Regions from separate parts of the Homo sapiens genome. Here all the other regions are linked to region 2. The links are contacts of gene promoters, found by promoter capture Hi-C in blood cells and fetal thymus (Javierre and others, 2016). All regions are on one chromosome and are shown on one strand. Each heading gives the region's core, a stretch centred on a gene start or on the middle of the fragment in contact. The rest is flanking DNA. Distances are from core to core; before and after follow the strand shown.

The links. Contacts are between HindIII fragments. The CHiCAGO score rates a contact against its expected background, and 5 or more counts as called.
Region 1: a contact is called between a fragment that was not itself captured here and the fragment with the promoter of ATAD2B in region 2, in 2 of 17 cell types (monocytes and total CD8 T cells). The highest score is 5.5, in monocytes.
Region 3: a fragment that was not itself captured here is called in contact with the fragment with the promoter of ATAD2B in region 2 in 8 of 17 cell types (total B cells, naive CD4 T cells, erythroblasts and 5 more); the score reaches 7.6 in total B cells.
Region 4: a contact is called between a fragment that was not itself captured here and the fragment with the promoter of ATAD2B in region 2, in 1 of 17 cell types (total CD8 T cells). The highest score is 5.1, in total CD8 T cells.

Annotation. Positions count from the first base shown.
Region 1 is chr2:24,492,413-24,497,504 of GRCh38, reverse strand. All of the region lies in intron 1 of NCOA1 (nuclear receptor coactivator 1), which reads right to left. Among named protein-coding and RNA genes, the nearest start is that of NCOA1, 3.7 kb to the right of the region's middle. The HindIII fragment of the contact is 1,154 bases long and covers 991-2,144 here.
Region 2 is chr2:23,925,568-23,930,421 of GRCh38, reverse strand. It overlaps ATAD2B (ATPase family AAA domain containing 2B), which reads left to right and starts at 3,299. Exons shown (of 28, transcript NM_017552.4): 1 at 3,299-3,867. The coding sequence starts at 3,652. It also overlaps a transcript of UBXN2A not described here. RefSeq lists enhancers at 2,773-2,862, 2,449-3,365, 4,123-4,172, 3,366-4,284, 4,383-4,632 and silencers at 3,033-3,362, 3,563-3,642. The HindIII fragment of the contact is 2,488 bases long and covers 2,804-4,854 here.
Region 3 is chr2:24,794,715-24,800,322 of GRCh38, reverse strand. It overlaps CENPO (centromere protein O), which reads right to left. Exons shown (of 8, transcript NM_001322101.2): 3 at 479-648. Among named protein-coding and RNA genes, the nearest start is that of CENPO, 4.1 kb to the right of the region's middle. The HindIII fragment of the contact is 3,129 bases long and covers 2,333-5,461 here.
Region 4 is chr2:24,815,168-24,820,600 of GRCh38, reverse strand. CENPO (centromere protein O) reads right to left here. Exons shown (of 8, transcript NM_001322101.2): 5 at 4,845-5,104; 6 at 3,784-3,955; 7 at 2,760-2,931; 8 at 1-1,247. The coding sequence ends at 2,795. ADCY3 (adenylate cyclase 3) reads left to right here. Exons shown (of 22, transcript NM_004036.5): 22 at 487-1,432. The coding sequence ends at 669. Among named protein-coding and RNA genes, the nearest start is that of CENPO, 24 kb to the right of the region's middle. The HindIII fragment of the contact is 763 bases long and covers 1,418-2,180 here.

The DNA.
Region 1 (5,092 bases), core at 318-2,817, 570 kb before region 2:
AGACAGGGTGTCACCATATTGGCCAGGTCTCGAACTCCTGACCTCATGATCTGCCTGCCTTGGTCTCTGAAAGTGCTGGGATTACAGATGTGAGCCACCACGCCCAGCCCACAAGAATCTTAAAGTGACATTTTCATCAAGTAACTGGTATATATGGCTCCCGGGTCATCAGAAAGGAACAAGACTGCAGGAGTCTCCACAACACAGGTATTCAAGAGAAAGAAAGTCCAGAAAGAAAAAAAAAAAAGTATAATGTGGCCAAGTGTGACGAACATGCTTGAAGAGAAGCCAATTGAAAGGTATGAATATGATTTCCACTCAGTAGGCTTGAACTCAAATGTCATCCCTAACACCTATAAGCTGTGCAATCTTACGCCAGCCACTTAACTTCCCTGAGCCTTGTTTCCTCATTTATAAAATGTAATATGTAGAGCTAGCACAGTACCTGGCTCAGAGACAACACTCAATAAATATTTGCTGACTATGAATGAGGGCCTTACAAGAAAAGCAGACGTTTTTCTACAGGTACTTTTGTAGTTTTTGAGAAAACGGTCTTAATTAATTCCTAATTAATACCTTTTTACAATATTTGAGAGTCATATTTTGGTCAAAAAATAAAAATGCTCCTTTCCTCCTAGCTTACACATTACTCAAAAGCTTACAGGAATTCTTATTATTTAAAATATCTTTGTAATATTGTAACTTTAAATACAAAAAGTAACTCTCATAAAGAAACCCTATTCCCAACTACATCTGCATGGACTTAGTCTGCTCAGCTGTAATATTAAGAAGGCTGTCCTAAATGATCATTTAAGGCTCTTTAACTCTAAATGTTGTAGTTCCTGGCATCTCAAGCGTTTTCCAATCTGTTTAGGAAAACCAATCAACACACACTAAAAAGAGAATCTCTCTCAAAAGAAAGAGAGAGAAAGAGAAGTTTATTATACAGAACAGAGTACCTAATGCTAAGGGAGTGATAAAAATCAAGCTTTCTTGAAAACATACCAGCTTTGATGCTGTTTTTGAAGGTCACGAGAACATAAAGGAAATCCAATTTAAATGAAGAAAATGGAACATGTAAAAGCAAAGACGCAAGATATCTATGATTATCATAATACTTTCTTCATTGCGTAGCACTTTACAGTTTGCGAAGTATTTCTGCATATGCCATCTACAGCAAATTTTCTGGAATGGGAAATGAAAGAATCAGTTTAAATGATTTACATTTGATAAATTTGCCCACAGAAAATCTCCTCTGAAAACAATAACATAAAAAAATTTTTTTAGAAGGGAATTTCTTCAGCATTATGTGTAGGACAAATTAGAGAGGTAAATGCATGCAAGCAAACAGCTATAAACCTACAAATCACAGAATTTTAAAACAAGAAGAAATGTGAAATTAGACCAACATGCTCATTTAATGATAAAGAAACTCAGGCCCACAGAGTCAATGTGACTCCCATTACTCCATGTGCAAATGACAGGAGGACCAGATTGCAGAACCAGAAATAAAGGAAAAAATTTGAGAAATTACAAAGAAAAGAATGCGAGAATTTGGTGATGAATTCGCTAATGAAATACCTGTTAGTCATTAATGTCTATGTGCCAATCATATGCTAAACACATTTAATAATTTTAAAGATTACAATATGAGGACAAGTACGTTACTCCAATTTTAAATATAAAAACTGAAGTTTAGTGTGGTTAAACAGCTCAAGGCTACATCAACCTAAGTATCTGGAAGAGCTAGGACACCTCTGTCTGTCTGGTCAGAGTTTCTTTTCTAAAAGATGCTTTAAAATTGCCCCACAATTATAAGCTGAAAGGGCAAAAATGAAGCATCACTCTGGAAAAACTGGATAATCCAGTACAATTAGAATTCTGGTCCTGATAATGGGTGCGTTTTGCTTCCGTGCTTGCACCTATTTTTATGAGTCTGGCCTGTCTGTGCCTAATGGTCAGGTCAGGGCTACTCAGTAAAACCAAACATCCCTGCCCTCCACACACTAAAACATACTCTCGGGGAGTGGTAAGAACAAAATATATCCAAGATGAGGGTGAGTCTTCCATAACTCCTCGAGTGACTAGAGCTTCTATTTTGGCATAAGCTACTTATCTTTTAAATATGATAACCATACTAAGCTTTTCTAAAAGCCTATCACTCCAAGGAGCCTCAAAAATTCTGTGTTGCAGATGGGGTTATGGGGGAAGAAGCATGGATACAACTCACTTTACTTAAACTTATGGAATTGGACTTATATGTTGGTATCAGCGTTTTATAATAATTTCCCTTATTCAGCCATGTATCCTGCAGAAATATATAATAATCATTTCTATACATTAATCCAAATACTATAGCCCACAAACCATTTTCCAGAACTAAGCTATTAAAAAAAAAAAACAAAAAAAAAACACCTTCATCTCCTTATGAAATGAAGCAACCAACATTGGTACCTAGTTGCCACTAGGCCATTTTATGACCTCTGACACCAAATGTTGAAAGGCACAAGGTCTAACTAAAATATAAAGAGAAAAGGAAAGGTTTTAAATGACTAGACCTCATCTTCAATGTTAAGAATAGAACATGAGGCCTATCCTTAGTTGCCAATCACCAACGGCTAAACTACTGCTAATCTGGGAAAGAAGCAATTTTAAAAAGTCCTTTCCTACAGTCTAGTCTTCCCAAATGGGTAGGAAAGTTAATCTAAGATAGGGAGAAATTTATACGGTTCTGCAGCCCAGATCAGATACAGTGTTCTGACATCCACCTCCTGAAACACATGGATTTCACCCGAGCCCACACCGACCACAGCATCCAATATTTGCAAGTAATGCAAAATGGAACCCTCCAAAACATTTTTGGACCTCTGCCAGGAAAGCAGCTGATGGTCCTCTGAGAATTTCTGTTATAATCATATTTAAAAGGCAAAAACCAATGCCAAAACAATCATGAGCGTCCCGGGGATCTCCTATGCTCCATGACTTAGATTTTACTCCGTGTTGTGCGTTGTATTGACCTCCCACACCTGCCCTATAATGAAAACTATGTTAAGCCACATGGCTTAAGGCCAGCCAACTCCATAAGATATGCAACATAACATTCAAACAATGTGGAGTCCTTGGGAGACGCAGCAAAAAAGACAAACTAAAGTACGGAACAGAGGTAGTATCTAAGAGGAGGTATATGAAATTGATGACAACCAAGCAGGGAGAACTAAAACATCCTTGAAAAACAATTATAAATCACAGTCTAGTATACAGATTCCCTATACAGAATTGGGGAAAAGAATTTCAAGAAAATGCCCAATACCCTCTCTCCACCACTCCACCTTTCAGCACCTCTATACCACCCTCATCACTTACTCAACATTTAGTCCTAGTGAAGACCGCTCACTGGATTAGCAGGATCAAGAAGACATGCACAGAACATTCCATTCTGAGAACAACATCTTTAAATTATTTAGGCTTGTTTACCACCCTTCCCTATAGAGTAAAAGCATGAAATGTTGCCAGCACTTTCACAATATACACCAGTTAGCACCATAGCAACCCAATCTTCTGCCCACCAAAAGATTAACACATAAGCAGAAAACAGGAAATTCAACAAAAATTAAAGTTTGACCTTAGACTCCCTCAACAGTTAAATGTCTTAAGTAGTAGCAGTGTCTTTACATCACACCCGCTTCATGCTACCCTTACAGCTTCCTGGCATAAGCAAGTTCTTGGGATTATACAAACTGCTGCTTCTGTTTGCAGCCCAGATTTCTAGAAATGAAACCCTGGAATTGAGGGAGAAACAAAAACAAATGTTCGCAGAAAGAGGCAGGAAGAAGCATTGTCTATATAATCCTAGTTTAAGTGAAACAATCACCATTAGCTCCATCAAGCACTTTTTTTTTTTTTCCAATAAAACCACTGCAGATCTAAAATACTCTCTTGGTTTAAACCACACAAAAAGCAATTTAATAGGCACAATCCTACAGGTTTTCTGAGAGAAATAAGGAAGAGATCAAGTGTAAGCTACGTAAAATTCACGTTTTGCACCTTATAAAGCAAACTTCAATGTTGTTAAATAACCAGTAGAAAATATCTACAAAAATCAAACTAAACACCTGTTCTTATAAGCAGCAGTCCTCTATTTTCTCTCTAAACCATATATTCCCAACTCAGACCCTCTCTGTGACCCACTGTTCCCAAAGCATAGAGTCTGAAGAAGAAATATAAAACATTTCGGACATTCGTTCACAAAACCAAATTAGACCTTTCCACAAAGTACAGGAGATAAAACAGAAACACTTCCATTTTATCTAATTTATGGCAAATAGTTCAAGGAATGCCTATTTGTTAAGCTGAATCAAACCCCACTGCTACCTTTAACCCAAAACTATTTCTAGTTGAAGATCCAAGAGACCTAAGCAAATACTTTCTTTTCACATTATTCTCAACATGAAGAAATCCGACCCCCTTCCTACAACATCATAGGAGGCCCCTCTGGCCAACTTTCGTTGTTATTGTTGTTGTTTTGTTTGCTTTTTTTTTGAGACTAGCCTCCAACCAATTCCAGAAGAGGAGACAAACCTCAAACAAATTTAACCCTTGAGATCCATCCCTCAACTGTATCATATAATCTACGCTTCACGGCAGTAATGTTTTAAGCAGACACTTGATTTCTTAATCACTGAAATGTAAGCACCAGCCCTCACAAATCATCGCCACAGAGATTCCTCTTGGCATCCACAGAGGGTGCTGGGACTGCAATTCACTCAAGAACCCTTTACTCACCAACATCACACTCGACATTAAAAACTCACCGTCTCCGAAGAAAAAATGTCACCTTCTGCACAAGGACACCTGCCTGTTCAACACCTCTACAAGAAACGAGGAGGGCCAAGCATGAGAGGCTAACAGATCCTCCAGCTTAAAGTTTTCCTCCCCATGAAACTCTCCGGACACAACACCGTGGCCTGTCCTTGTCACACACACACAGGCTGTATTGTCAACCCCTCCGTCTCCCTCTAACGTCGTCAGACTGGGCAGTGTCTACCCATGGGGGTAACTGCTTTTAAATAAAATAAAAAAGCAGCCACCACAG
Region 2 (4,854 bases), core at 2,050-4,549:
GGTTTCTTCCCTATCTTATTCATTCCCTCTATGTCTGTGTGTTCTTTGAGGATTTTTAAACGTTCTTGATTTTTAAAAATCTGTGTATTTCCTGGCCTAGCAGAGTACCTAATACCAGTTGGATTTATTTATTTACTTATATATTTTCTAGAGACAGGGACTCACTATGTTGCCCAGGCTGGTTTCGAACTCCTGGGCTCAAGCTCAGTTGGATTTAAAATTAACATTTGTTACCTCCAGGCGCAGTGGCTCACACCTGTAATCCCAGCACTTTGGGAGGCTGAGGCAGGCAGATCACGAGGTCAGGAGATCAAGACCATCCTGGCTAATACGGTGAAACCTCGTCTCTACTAAAACTACAAAAAATTAGCCGGGCGTGGTGGCACACGCCTGTAGCCCTAGCTACTTGGGAGGCTGAGGCAGGAGAGTCGCTTGAACCTGGGAGGCGGAGGTTGCAGTGAGCCCAGATAGTACCACTGTACTCCAGCCTGAGTGACAGAGCAAGACTCCATCTCAAATAAATAAATAAAGTTAACATTTGTTGATAGTAAATGGTATAGGTTATGGTAACTTGGCCTTCCCAATTTAGGACTACAAAAACAAATAAACACACACAAAAAAGGAGGAAAGCACACAAATCCTTTGTATATAATTTGCATACCACACACCTCTGCAGGACACTAGCCTTTTTATTTATTTATTTTTTTTTGAGATGGAGTTTTGCACTGTTGCCCAGACTGGAGTGCAGTGGTGCAATCTCAGCTCACTGCAACCTCCGCCTCCCGGGTTCAAGCGATTATCCTGCCTCAGCCTCCCAAATAGCTGGGATTATAGGTGTCTGCCACCATGCCTGGCTAATTTTTTGTATTTTTAGTAGAAATGGGGTTTCACCATGTTGGTCAGGCTGGTCTCGAACTCCTGACCTCAAGTGATCCGCCCGCCTCTGCCTCCCAAAGTGCTGAGATTACAGGCATTAGCCACTGCACCCTACCCTTTTTTTTTTTTTTTAAATATTTTTTTGAGACAGGGTGTTACTCTGTCACCCAGGCTAAAGTACAATGGCATGAACTTGGCTCACTGCAGCCTGGACATCCTGGGCTCAAGTGACTGATGGCGCCTCAGTCTCAGGAGTGGCTGGGACCACAGGCACCACACCCAGTAGTTTCAGCTACCAGGGAGGCTGGGGCAGGGGGATTGCTTGAGCCTGGGAGGTCAAGGCTACAGTGAACTGTGGTTGTGCCACTGCACTCCAGCCTGGGTGACAGAGTGAGACCCTGTCTCTCTCTCTTTCTTTTTGGCAGGGAGAGGATCTCACTATGTTGCCCAGGCTGGTTTCCAACTCCTGGTCTCAAGCCATCCTCCCGCCTCGGCCTCCAAGTGCTGAGAATACAGGTGTGAGCTACAGTGCCTGGCCCAAACCAGCCTCTTTCCACAGGAATTGATACTTGTTTATGCTGCTCAGTGATGTGATAGCTACTTGACCCAGGAAAATCCAGGTATGGTTCCATTATGAGGAATCCCACCCATTAAGACATCAACTCTAAGTGGCAGGTGAAGTGTCCAGGAGAGGATGTGGTATGCAAATTGTGTCAGAAGGATTTATCTATTCTGGAATCCATACTGGTTCCCAAACAAAAAAAATTGTCATTTCCAGTGTTGTACAGTTTTTTGGAATGATTGGGAGCTTAGATGGCCAGAATGCTCTAAGTTTGATGCCATTTGGTCATTTTCAGGACTTTTCCTGAGTTTTCAATTTTTCTTAGTTTAATAAACAGTTTAATAAACTCCTGCCCAATAAACAGTAGGCTATGTCTAATGTACTGTGAATTTTATTTTTTTTTTTTTGAGATGGAGTCTCATTCTGTCACCCAGGCTGGAGTGCAGTGGCACGATCTTGGCTTACTGCAATCTCTGCCTCCCGGGTTCAAGCGATTCTCCTGCCTCAGCCTCTCAAGTAGCTGGGATTACAGGCATGCACCACGACACCTGGCTAATTTTTTGTATTTTTAGTAGAGAGGGGGTTTCACCATGTTGGCCAGGTTGGTCTCGAACTCCTGACCTCAAGTGATCCGCCCGCCTTGGCCTCCCAAAGTGCTGGGATTACAGGCGTAAGCCCGGCCTGTACTGTGAATTTTTGAAATGAACCTAATTCCTACTTTACAGCAGAGCTTTTCTTTCTTTCTTTTTCTTTCTTTCTTTCCTTTCTTTCTTCCTTTCTCTCTCTCTTTCTTCTTTTTTTTTTTTCTGAGACAGGGTCTGGCTCTGTCATCCAGGCTGGAGTGCAGTGGCGTGATTTCGGCTCACTGCAACCTCCATCTTCTGGGTTCAAGTGGTTCTCATGCCTCAGCTTCCCGAGCAGCTGGGATTACAGGTGCCCACCACAACACCCATCGATTTTTTGTATTTTTAGTGGAGACAGGGTTTCACCATGTTGGTAAGGCTGATCTAGAACTCTTGACCTCAGGTGATCCACCCACCCCGGCCTCCCAAAGTACTGGGATTACAGGCTTGAGCCACCGCACCCGGCCTACAGCAGAGCTTTTCATATGAATTGTGTGGCTTAATTTTTTTTTCTTTGGAAGTTAAATTGCAAATGCTTTATCTGTGGGTTCAGCTTTTTGTATTCTTAATTCTTCAGCGGGCCGGGGGCAGGGGGCGGCGATAGAGGCGGCTCTTACAGGGTACTCATTCTTTGGCTCCGCCTTAGATCTGGCTAAGGGGATAGAAAACGACCCTGCCTCGCTTTGTTTAAAAACGCAGAGTTCTAGCATGGTGTTTCCCCCCCCCCTTCTCTTCTTAAGCTTACCAAGTTCCAGATACCGCCCAGATGAATTTTTTTTTTATCACAGCTGTCATTCTCATTTCTACAGGCATGAAAAGTGCGACTCAAGTTCAGTGTCTTGCCTCGGGTAGCTTGGGGATTCCCAGTCAGCTCCTCGCGCCTTCGTCGCCGCTCCCCTTCCACCCCGCGCCTTCGCCGGCCGTCCCCTGCTCCATCCAGGCCACGGGGGTGACGGTGGGGTCTGGGGCATTCAGGCCTGGCTGGGCATGAGGGCTTCAGGCCCAATTCCACGCCCGAACTCGTCCTGATTAGTCTGGCTTTTCTGGTCGCCCCAGCCCTGCGGTCGGGGAGAGCTGGAAACCACCGAGCTGACAGCCTAGAGCGTCGCTCCCCGGCCGCCGAGCGCTGACGCCGCGCCGGGGGCGGGGCAGCTGGAGGCGGCAGGGAGAGGAGCGAGCAGCCGGGAAGGGCTGGCCGGCTTCGCAGCGCCCCGCCGTGGCTGCGGCCGGAAGCGGTCTCGTTGGCCCTGCGGCGCTGGAGCCTTGACGCACGGAGCTCGAGAGCGAGAACGGGAGAGAAAGGGGTAGAAATGGCGGCTCCGCTCGGCTCCCGCTGAGGAGGGCGAAGCCGGCGGAGTGTCTGTGCTGCCGGTCTGCAGCACCGCCCCCGCTTCCCGCACGCCGCCTGCTCACGCCGACTTCCCTTCCTCTGCCCGGCTCTCTCTTGTGCTCGTCTGCGCTCCGCACGCTCCGGGCCGGCTCGTCTCTCATTGCCCGGCTCGGCTCCGCTGGCCCTGACTGACCGGCCGGCGGGCCGGCCTTGCTCGGCTCTCCCGGGCGCGGCGTGGACTCCGTCCCCCTGGCTGGACCATGGTGAACACCCGGAAGAGCTCTCTCCGCCTTCTCGGGTCCAAGTCTCCTGGTCCCGGGCCTGGGCCTGGGGCCGGAGCAGAGCCTGGGGCGACCGGAGGCAGCAGCCATTTCATCTCCTCTCGGACCCGCTCCTCCAAGACCCGCGCCGCCAGCTGCCCCGCCGCCAAAGCCGGGGGAAGCGGTGGCGCCGGCGTCACTCTGGATGAGGCCAGGGTAAGAGCGCGGCGTCCCGAGTCCGGAGGCTCGGAAGTGCCGGCCCTGCTGCCGGGGCTTTGTCTGGCCGGGTTGGGGGTAGGAAGCCTACAGTGGAGACCGCTCGGGCGGCTGGAGACAGGGTCTGCGGGCGCGGTGGAGGGTGGCACCCAGAGAAGGGCCGCGACGCTGGCCCCTTTGCTTTTCAAGCTGGCCCGGCTCTTTTGTGTGAAGAACAGCCCTTGAGTCCAGGGGAGAGGGCTTTGGGGGTCCCTTTCGGCGTCATTCGAACGATCTGCTGTCCGTGTCCTTGTCCTGCCCCAGAGGGGAATTCTAGCGGGGAAGCAAGAGCGAAGGGCCAGAGCCCCTGGGTGGAAGGGTTGGAGAAGTGAAAGTTTTCTGCGGTGTCAAACCCTTCTTGAAAGTGTGTCAGTTCCTGCCGCTGTCTAACTCCAGCTTACTCTCAGTTTGGGGGTGGTTCAAGTTGGTGAGGAAGTGAACAGAGAGCTCCAGTTGGCAGCCAGGCAGGGATGCTGAAAAAAGTTTGTAGCTGCTCTGACACCAACTTTAAAAACAAAATCAACGCTATCGCCTCTCCAGGCAGGAGAGATCAAACATGATATTATAGCTGGGGAACCAGCCAGCTAGCTCACCAAGGTGCTAGTAGGAACCAGAGCTTTCAGGTCACAGAAGGAGCACGTCGAAAGAAACAAGTGGAATGTTTCGGATAGTCAGCACCATCATGCCAAAACTGTGTGGTTTCTTGGGTGTCTACATTTTTGTTATGGGACTATATTACAAAAGGTGAATGAACACCATAGTCATGCAGTTGCAAAAATGACATTTAAAGACGCTGGTGATTGAATTAAAAAACTGATTGAAAGATCTTGAAATTTTATTACCTACATTATAAAGCTAAGCACAGATATTTATTGTTTTAAAGGAATTGACACGTTTGTTTTACTATGAGATTGTTTCTGAATTCAGAGAAGAGTGTATTGCTTCTGT
Region 3 (5,608 bases), core at 2,648-5,147, 870 kb before region 2:
GTTAGGTGATATTCACTGTAACTCTACCGGATTTTTGTTTTTTTGAGACGGAGTCTCACTCTGTTTCCCAGGCTGGAGTGCAGTGGCTCGATCTCAGCTCACTGCAACCTCCGCCTCCCAGGTGCAATTCGTGCCTCAGCCTCCTGAGTAGCTGGGATTATAGGCGCCTGCCTCCATGCCTGGCTAATTTTTGTATTTCTGGTAGAGATGGGGTTTCACCATGTTGGCCAGGCTGGTCTCAAACGCCTGACCACAGGCGATAGGCCTGCCTCGCCTTTCAAAGTGCTGGGATTACAGGCATGAGCCACCGTGCCTGGCCAAACTCTACAGGTTTGATCATTTGAGGGATCAAGGACTGCAATCAATCCAGTAAGATCACAAGTAAAACACATTATAAAAAATGGCCAATTCACCAATTCCCAAATCACGTTTGTTCATTATACTCTAAAGGAACTGCTGATACCACCCTTCTACTCACGCTGGCTCGCCGGTGCCGCACCACAGCCCTCAGCTCATCTCGCAGACGCCTTAGTTTATGAATCTTGGTTCCAAGAGCACCTTCCTGGGCCTGCACGCTCTGCAGCTCTTCAGACTGTTTACGGGATCTGCTCACTTGGGTCTCTAGCCTTTCCAAGTGAGCTAAAACACCTAAGGAGAGTAAAAGGAGAATTTTACAAGAAGCTGAGGATTTCTCACTGTGGCAACAGGAAGCATCTCAGGGAAGAACAGGTGACTCTTTTTTTTTTTTTACCAGAACTTTGTGGCCAGCTGAATTGTTAGATATCTGTCAATTTATAAAACCAGGGGAGCTAACAATTGAAATCAAAGATCATCAACCTCCTAGGTTGGAGAGTGATGTAAAACAGGATCCTCCTCAAAGACAGCCCGAGAGAGGATATGAACTATCACACGCTGATTAGGCAGCAGTGTCTTATCTAGGTCTGCAGTTTATCGCAAATCCACATCTCTAGTGTGTAAAGGATGATTCTCTAGCTTTACCACAGGCCGGAGAGAAGCCCTCTCACAGCCGAGGGCGGTGGCTCACACTTGTAATCTTAGCACTCTGGGGGGCCAAGGCGGGTGGATCACCTGAGGTCAGGAGTTCGAGACCAGCCTGGCCAACATGGCAAAACCCCATCTTTACTAAAAATACAAAAAATTAGCCGGGCATGGTGGCGCATGCCTGTAATCCCAGCTACTCGGGAGGCTGAGGCAGAATTGTTTGAATCCAGGAGGCGGAGGTTGCAGTGAGCCAAGATCACTGCACTCCATTGGAGTGCCATTGCACTCCAGCCTGGGGGACAGAGCAAGACTGTCTCCAAAAAAAAAAAAAAAAAAAAAAAAAAAGGAAGCCCCAGACTTTATTTAATCGAGCTTCTTAAGTACACCCAGCATCTATTTTGTAGGGTTCATATGGATGAACATATATGAAAACCTTAATCTTCTCTCCTTGCCTTGGGACGGAATCCAAAAACTTATCTCATTCACCTATCCAATTAAGACTAGAAACCTCTTATGGTTTTTATGGCTAATAAAACCATTAAAAAAAAGTATGTGAGATCGGGCCGGGTACGGTGGCTCACGCCTGTAATCCCAGCACTTTGGGAGGCCGAGGCGGGTGGATCACGAGGTCGGGACATCAAGACCATCCTGGCTAACACAGTGAAACCCCGTCTCTACCAAAAACACAAAAAATTAGCCGGGTGTGGTGGCGGGCACCTGTAGTCCCAGCTACTCAGGAGGCTGAGGCAGAAGAATGGCGTGAACCCAGGAGGCGGAGCTTGCAGTGAGCCAAGATCGTGCCACTGCACTCCAGCCTAGGTGACAGACTCCGTCTCAAAAAAAAAAAATTTGTGTGAGATCAAATAGAAACAGACACGCACTATATGCAGAATTATCCTATTTTACTCATTGAGGCCTATCCCCTTGCTTTCTCAGAAACCCTAAATGATCAGTTACCCTTTTCTCTGCTGTGTTCATTTCCCTTCCACACACGCTCAAGTCTCAACTGTCTTCAAACACACACTCATATATATATATATATATACACACACATACACACACACACAATTTCATACACTCACAGGCCTATTCTTGCCCACAAATCCCCTTCAGCTACTATCTCCCTTTTCTCCCCTTTCCTTTCCAGGAAAACTACTTAAAAGAGTTGTCCATGCAAGTTGAGTATCCGAACGTTTTGGGACTAGAGGTGTTTCAGATTTCGGAATTGGGAGTATTTGCATTACACTTACTGGCTGAACATCCCATATCTGAAAATCCAAAACTGGAAATAAGCATTTCCTTTGACCATCATGTCAGTGCTCAAAAAGCTTCAGATTTTGGAGTATTTCAGATTTTGGATCTTCAGTGCTCAACTTGTACTCACTTTCTCCATTTTCTTGCCTGTGACTCATACCTCAACCCACTTGAAACTCACTTCTGTTCCCATTATTTTACAAAACCACTCTAAGATCAACAGTGATATCCATGTTGCTGAACCCAAAGGACATTTTTCAAGCTCCCTTATCTCACCTCCCAGCACTATATGCTCCTACTGATCACCACCTTCACGAAACCCTCTTTTCCTCTGAATCTTAGCATAGCGGCCTGTTGGTATGCCTTGTTCAACAGATGTTTATTAAGCATCTATTTTGTGCCAAGTACTATTTCAGGCACTGGGAACATAGTGATGAACAACAGACAACCTGTTTTTGTGACACTTACATTTTACCTCTCTGACCCCACTTTCTGCTTTGAAGGCTCCTACTCTCCTCCTTGACCATTAAATGCTGAAATTTTCCAGAGCTCAGTCCTAAGACCTCTTCTTTCCAGAAGAAATCTCATCAGTACCCACAGCCTTAATGGCCATACATGTCGATGCCACACAAATATGTATCTCTAGCTTATACCTCTCTCCTGCTTCTTGAGAAAGCAGAATATCCACCTGCCTTCTCAGTGTATCTACTTGGAAGACTTACAGGAACCTGACAATCAACATGTCCAAGACTGAATTCATCATCTCCCCTTCTAAACCCCTCCATGACTGGAACCATTATCCATCTATAGCTGTGTAAACCAGTACTTTCTTCCTCACACCTTCTCCCTGACCCAGTCCCAATCCATTACCAGATCCTATTGAATATACATTCCTAGTATCTCTAAAATATTTCCATTTTCCCCATCTGCAATGCCACCATTGTAGTTCAAGCTACTACCATTTCTGGCCTATTACAAGTTTCCTAGGTGGCCCATACACTGAAGCCATATTTCAAAATCTAAACTGGATCGTGTCATCCAGCTGGCTAAAGCCTTTCGATGACTTCACACTGCCTACGAGGCCTACTGGCCTCTGGATCTCTCTTACCCTCATCAGTATCATGCTGCTCCTTCTCTAGGCATTTCCACACAGGCCTCCTCTCAGGCTCTCAAACCCGCCCAGCGTCTTTACTGACCTGATCCCCCCACCCCCAACACACACACCAAAGGCTCTTCCACAGCCGCCCCTTATCCACCTTCACCTGCAGCTACTCTAGCTCGTTAGCACTCAATGCAAGCAGCATTTCCTCAGGGAAACCTTTGTAGCACCTTCAGAACAAGGTCAGGTGCCAGCTCATAAGCTCTCAAAGATCCTTCTGAGACAATACTATAGTTTTTTTGTTTTTGTTTTTTAAATAAAGAGATGGGGTCTCACTATGTTTCCCAGGCTGGTCTCAAACTCCTAAGCTCAAGCGATCCTCCCACCTCGGCTTCCCAAAGTGCTAGGATTACAGGCGTGAGCCACCGCACCCGGCCACTATAGTTTTAATTGTATATTCATTAGTGTGATTATTTGATTTGCTTATCTTTTCCACTGAACCTTAAAGTTCCAAAATCAGGGACCGTGTGCATTTGTGTTCACCCATGGATCCCTTAACCCTAGCACAAAGTGTTTACACATGGTAAACACTCCGGAAATGGTTATTTTTTTCTGAGACGAAATCTCACTCTGTTGCCCAAGCTGGAGTGCAGTGGCGCGATCTCAGCTCACTGCAACCTCTACCTCCCAGGTTCAAGCAATTCTCCTGCTTCAGCCTCCCAATTAGCTGGGACTACAGGCATGCACCACGATGCCCGGCTAATTTTTGTATTTTTAGTAGAGATGGGGTTTCACTATGTTAGCCAGACTGGTCTTGAACTCCTGACCTTGTGATCCACCCGCTTTGGCCTCCCAAAGTGCTGGGATTACAGGTGTGAGCCACCGCGCCCGGCCAACACTCCGGAAATGTTTACCGAAACACGGACAACCAGGCATGACACTCTTGGAGATTACATTCACTTGGCTCATGTCCACAGAAAAACCCACATTACCGCAATAATAATCGTGAGAAACCAAAATTCTAATTAAATAAATTAGTCCTAATAATTAGCACGTGATTAACTGCTTTATTCACCAATCTCTATTTATCCAACAACTATGCATTGAGAATTTACTATGGACCAAGGACCGTGCTGGAAGTTATTCATACTGTGGTGGCAAAACGAAGTCCCTGTCCTCACGGAGCTTACAAAAATTAATGTCCAACCAGGAGGTGATCTGAAAAGCACGCACACATAGAATAATTTAGGGTGGTAGAGGAGACGCCTCACCAAATTCTACTTTATGGAAATTCTATATTACTAAAACAGTAGATATCAATATTCCCAAAGTTTCTGAGATAAGTAGGTGTTCAAAACAGTATCATGCTGCTCCTTCTCTAGGCACTTCCACACAGCCCTCTTCTCAGGCTCTCAAACCTGCCCAGCTTCTTTACCGACCTGATTCCCTCTACACCAAGGGGGTAGCGTTGTTGTTTAGCGTTGCTACTACAGAAAAGAGGGAGTGTATCTGCTGGGCCTGCTTTACCTTGGAAGTTATGATTGCATCTCATCCTAGCCAGTCAGCTTTGTCCCAAAAAAAGTCAAAATCCCTGCCTATTTGAATAAATCATCTGGTTGCAACTACAACTCCATGTCCTTCCTTCTCAAATGAGTGGGGAGAATTCAAATAATAAGCAAAAAACTGAAATCAAACAAGCAGAGGGATAAAACCAGTATGGGTAACAGCTAAGTGTTTAAATATTGTTTTGGGTAGAGAATAAGGAGACTGGTCTAAGTCTCTTGATAATCCAAAACTTCCACCTCATCACTTACTTTAACAGAAATGAAATAAGGCCTGGACTAGAGAACAGGTTACTCCTGAGTGTAGCATGTTTCCACTACATAAAGTCACCAAACTTATTTTTAGTCTTAAAGTAACAATAAATCTTACCCCATATACTTTTATTATCTAAAGTCTCAGCTTAAGTCATCTTAGGCTGAATATAGTTACTTCTCTGTTATCAATGATAATGATGACCCAGAGAAAAATAGGATAACCAAATTCACTGACGCGCTCAGAAATTCTTTTTAAAACTGTAATTTAAGTTAGGTTTTATGGCAAGCTTTCCCAAAGTACTAACGTAGAACCCTTTGGATTTAGGCATCAGGCTTGAGTAAGTATTTCAAAGTTCTAAAAAGTATTAGTAGCAAAGAACATAAAGTCACACAAAACCAGAACTGTCCACAAATATTACTAGGCACTAAAGAAGAA
Region 4 (5,433 bases), core at 550-3,049, 890 kb before region 2:
GTGGGGCAAGTGGAAAAGAATCTCTGCAATAGCTAGCCTCAGCACAGGAAGAAACACTTCCACCCATCCACAAAATCTGGGCTGAAGTTCTAGATGCATATGGCCTACCTTTGGGTATGAACCTTCTAATACCTTGTGATCTGTCTCAGTGGCGTCTGGCAGAAAAGCTCCACGAAAGGGGCAAAGGGACAGAAGAGCAGGCAGTGGCAGTTTCCAGGTAACAGTGCTGCCACCCAGGTGACCATGGCCATCCTAGGAGAGAAGTCTCTGGATGAGAGGAGGCCCCCAGCCAGTCACTCCAGGGTTCTCCTTCCCACCCGCTGCTCGCCACGGGTGGAAGGGCTTGGCCCTGGGAGGTTTGGGGAGTGTCCCGTACTGCTTGGGACCCATGGATCAGTGCTCGGCTCCAACCACCCAAAGCCCCCACCCGCCCTCAGTCTAGGCTCCCCCCGTAACGCCACGTTCTTGCTCCCCCTCCCTCTCCAGGTGGTAGAAGAAACCCAAGTCATCCTCCGAGAGTACGGCTTCCGCTTTGTGAGGCGAGGCCCCATCTTTGTGAAGGGGAAGGGGGAGCTGCTGACCTTCTTCTTGAAGGGGCGGGATAAGCTAGCCACCTTCCCCAATGGCCCCTCTGTCACACTGCCCCACCAGGTGGTGGACAACTCCTGAATGGCCTCGAGCCTGCAACAGTCCAAACCGGAAGGGAGAATTTATTTTTTGAAACTGAAGGAAGTCCCGACCTTCCTGGATTGAAGTGCACACTCATGGACTTTAGGTTTAGAAACCTCCTCAGCCTTCATTTGTTCGTGGATGTGTGAGCTCTGAGGGTGGCCCTGCTATTCCTGTGTGTGCCTGTAGTGTCCCCAGCATAGGGGTCTTAGGCATAGGGCTGAACAGTCCTTCCAGAGCCCTCGTTCCAATCCCTGCCGTCCTTGCCCCTGAGGGGCCCTGACCACTGTGAGCAGGAGGGTGGCAGAGCTGGGACAAAGCTGCCTTTGCCGCTGGGCTTTCCGGGACTGTGGAGGGAGCACAGGCGGGGAAGCTCCACTTCAGACAGGGCTTGGTGGGGCAGGACATGGCTCCCATTTTGAAGGGAGGTCTCCATGTGGTCCGAGTGAGGTGAGACGGCCCTCGTCCTGGTGTTCCTGATCATCTTGAAAGGTTCTTCTGGAACTCCTGTCCCCTTAGTCATGAGAACAGAAAGTGCAATATTTCCTTTCACCTGGCAGGGGAGGGGGGATTTATTTCTGAAAGAAAAATATATAAACAGATCTTCTACATTTATATTTTTAATCTTCTGTTAAATACACTTTCCGATATTGCCTTGCCTTTTGAGCTCTTGCTACAGTCGCCTTTGCTACTGCTTTAAGAGAATTTACAGGTATTGATAAAGAACAAGACTGTTTTATTAAAAGCTTTATTCAACTTGAAAGTGATTGTGGAAATTCTGTTAATATCACTTATCTGAGGAGTGCTGGTACTTTGCTGACTCATGCCACTGGTCCCCACCACAGGCCTGGAAGGCAAGAGCTTGAAGGTCTCATCATAGCTCACTGTACCCCGGAACGCCTGCTGCCTGGCCCTGTCTCTTTTATTCTTAAACTTTCTTCTAAAGGGTACTCCAAGCTGGCTTTAATCCCCTGCACTGTTCCTGGAGCTCTCCCACACGGAGGTTACTTCGTGGCCATTGCAGGGTTAAGTCTGAACGTGGCCTTGGGCCAGTCATGACTCCTATCTGTGCCTGGGCAAGGGAGGGCTACAGGAGAACCTGGTCAGCCAGACACAGGTTTTCATATCTGTGAGTGACCCACACGCCAAGGAACCAGAGGTGCCAGCAGGTCAGAGGCCCGTGGTTACGGCAAATCAGGACACTAACCGGAGAGCCTGCAGGAGAGGGAAGACCCGGGGGGCGCCTGAGTCCCCCTGAGTTAATGGGCAGATTTCTAACTAACTAACTGTGCTTTTTCAGAGGGGACTTCCTAGTACATTCACAGCTCTACTAAACTTTTAGGAAACAAAATATGAGACACACTGAACTCTGATTATTTTATCCTACTGCTTTCTCACACCATATTTATAAAGCAGTGGCCTAGAATACACTGCGCCTAACCAAACAAACACTGAAGAACTTCCTTTTCAAAAGTTTCAAACAGGAAAATGAGGAAAAATTACTTAAAGCTTTCATAAAAGCTAAAAATACTTTCCTTTTAAAAAAAAAAAAATATTGGGTCTTCCTTATTATCTTCATTAGTGAATGTGGGTTATTTTTCCATTTATTTAGATCAGTGTTTCTCAACAGAATCAAGCTATTGCAGTTTGAGTGGAGTGCTACATTTCTGTGAGAGCCCTTTCTGAAAATTTTAGGATTTTTGGCATCTCTATTCCTGGCATTAAATTAGTAGCAGTTACTGTGACAACTTAATTGCCTGGTCTTTCCCAGAGTTAATGCCCTCAATAATTTGATATTTTTCCATAAGTACTTCTTGAGTGATACACCTTTTTCAAAAAATGGCTTTTATTGCCCCACAAATGATTTTCAACTAAAATGTATGATCAACTAATACCTTTAAAAAACATCTTGAGCATTTTAAGAAGGGACCAGGTGATCATGGGAATTGTTCAAAAATGCCAGTGTCTATACTCAAACCTGCTCTTCCATCCAGATGAACAGGTAGGTGTCTGTTTTCATCAGAAGGGTGATGTACCCTTCATCAGACAGTACTACCCACCTGGTACTGTCTTCAGTACTGGTTACTTACCTCTGATGTGCTCCCAGTGCAGTGAAAACAATCTATTAGGAGACCAGACTCATATCCAACTTTTCTCCTTTTCTTGTAAATGAGGCAAACACTTGATGCAAGGGCTTCGTACAGAACAGAGTTTCATGAGATGCTCGTTGCTCCTCCCATGAAGTGGATAATACTTCCACTCCTAAAAAGAAAGATTCCATCAATCTCATTCAGTGCAGCTGGGGGAATCGGAGCCTGGATCACTGATATTCAATCTCATTCAGTGCAGCTGGGGGAATCGGAGCCTGGATCACTGACATTCAATCTCACTCAGTGCAGCTGGGGGAATCGGAACCTGGATCACTGATATTCTGGACCCACTGGACCCATACAGCTTTTTTTTTTGGTCTGGACTAAGGCTGCCCCTTACTGGACCAATGCAATCTAGAGACTGGGGACTGGAATCTAACTGCGCAGAGAAATCAAAGACCGATGGTGTGAAATCTGGGGCAGCTTCAAAATTTCTGCCTCCTAAAAACATTTCACCCAATTTTTCATTATTGCCCATGTCACATTTAACTGAAACAGGTTCACCAAAAAATCTCTCTCTCAGCCAGTCTGGAAGGATTTCCATTTAGAGACTGCTCCGTAGGGAGGAGTAAGTGTGTGCTGACGTGTCATGTCCATTTGTCTTCACAGTGAAATGAGTCTTCTGGCTCCATCCACCATAACTGACCCATGACTCAGCCTTATCATTAGGTGTCTTTCCTGAAGCAGGGCCCCCAGTGAAAACAAATCATAGGCTGCGAGAACACTGCTGAGGTGGGTGGGCAAAGGAGAAGGGAAAATGGGGACAATCATGTTTACCATTTACAAAGAGGAAGGAAAAGACTGGTAGAAACAAGAATGTTCTATCTTACCGGTCTGAGTAATGTACAGTATATAAACAGAGAAAGTGTCTCAAGAGGTCTACTTCATGGATTCTACCTATTTTCCCTGTTTCACTCAAATAAACTGGGATATGAGAATTTCTGCACTGAGGCACCCTTCTTACCTTGACATGTCACGGTGACGTCAGTGGGAAGAGTTGCTGTGAGGTCCTTATACAGCAATCTAGCACAGAACGGGAAGGACTGACCCCCTGGATCCAGTTTGTAAGTAAATGACAGCAAGTTACACAGTGGGTTTCTCTGCAAGGGCCCAGTCAGGAGGGCTGCAAAGTCACTCTAAGAGGGGTGAGGAACAAAACGAAGTAGAGGATGACTGCAGTTCCAAAGGTGGTGTTTACTGACCCTTCAATTACGTCAACCAAAAAGAGGCCCATCGATTACATTTCAGAGAAATAAATGAGGGACAGAAAAAGGTCTGAAAAAAGGACTAATGAAAAAGATGCCTAAGATAACTAAGAGTCACTGGCAGCCTGGAAAGGCCTATAGGCCTAAATGGCCAGGGGTACAGCTTCGCAAGAGACTGTTTCTGCAGAAACTTCACTGACGTTACACGGCTAAGATGCTTCATGACTGCATCCACATTTCAATTTAAGTTAAATCTACAGCTGAGAGCTTCAGAGTTACTCCAAATCCATAGAGGGGGAAATGCTAAGCTTGTAGGAGGCACTTACAGCCTATTTGCATTAATTTCCTATCTACTTTTTTCACCCAACCTTAGCTCAACTGCAACCCAAAAAGGTAGGCTAGAGTTTAGGGGAAGATGGACAGCATTGTTCCATGGCACTGCAGAAACCTTTCTTCTCTAATGAGATCTATACCCAAGGTTCAGCAAGGCACTCGGTATGGTACATAGTAGGCACGCCATAAATCCCTGATGGATCAAAAGTATAGCAACTGCACTCTGTACAATCTTACGATAAAAGCTTGAAGACCACCATTCAGGGGTGCATAATCCTTTAACCAGTACCCAGGCTTCAACGCCATCCAGAGTTTCAAAAGAAAAGAGGGTGGGATAGTGCTTTTATATAAATAAGAAACAAGCATCGGAAAGGTAACGGTCAAACTTCTAACTCACAGTTAGGAAACACTGAAAATACAAAAAACATCCCCCTTTTAAGTTGATCTTGGGCCCACGGATGAGGCATATAACATCCCAGAGAGATACCTGAAGCCGGTCTGCCTGGTACTTCCTCCCAGAGTAAGCATTCAGGTACTCGCAGAGACTGAACAGGAAGTGCTGGATGTTGGTCTGTAAATATTTTGCAGCTATCTCTTCCAGGGGAATGAAGACTGGGACTGAATGGTGATGTATCCGGAGTGGTTTCTGTATGACAAGGTCCACAAAATAGGAATCCAATAGGTTCCCCTCAAAAGCAGTACTGATGCAGACACAAACTCCTCGGCTGGTCAGTTTACCACTGAGGCCTGAGGCAAACAAGAAGACACCTCAATAGACAGCAGGCCAAGGTGATGTCTTACTCATCTGTGCCTCCAGTAGCTTCCACAGTGCCTAGAATATGTACACTTTGTACACAAATGTTTGTTCAATGAGTATCATAGGCTCATTCTTCCCCTTGGCTCCGGCTCACTTTGAGACTGAGTTGTTAAAACCATGGAAGAATGGTAAAAATGAAAAAACAACCTAAATGTCAAACTATTGAGAAATTTTTTTTTTTTTTTTTTTGAGATAGGGTTTCACTCTGTCACCCAGGCTGGAGTGCGGTGGCACGATCTCAGCTCACTGCAACCTCAAC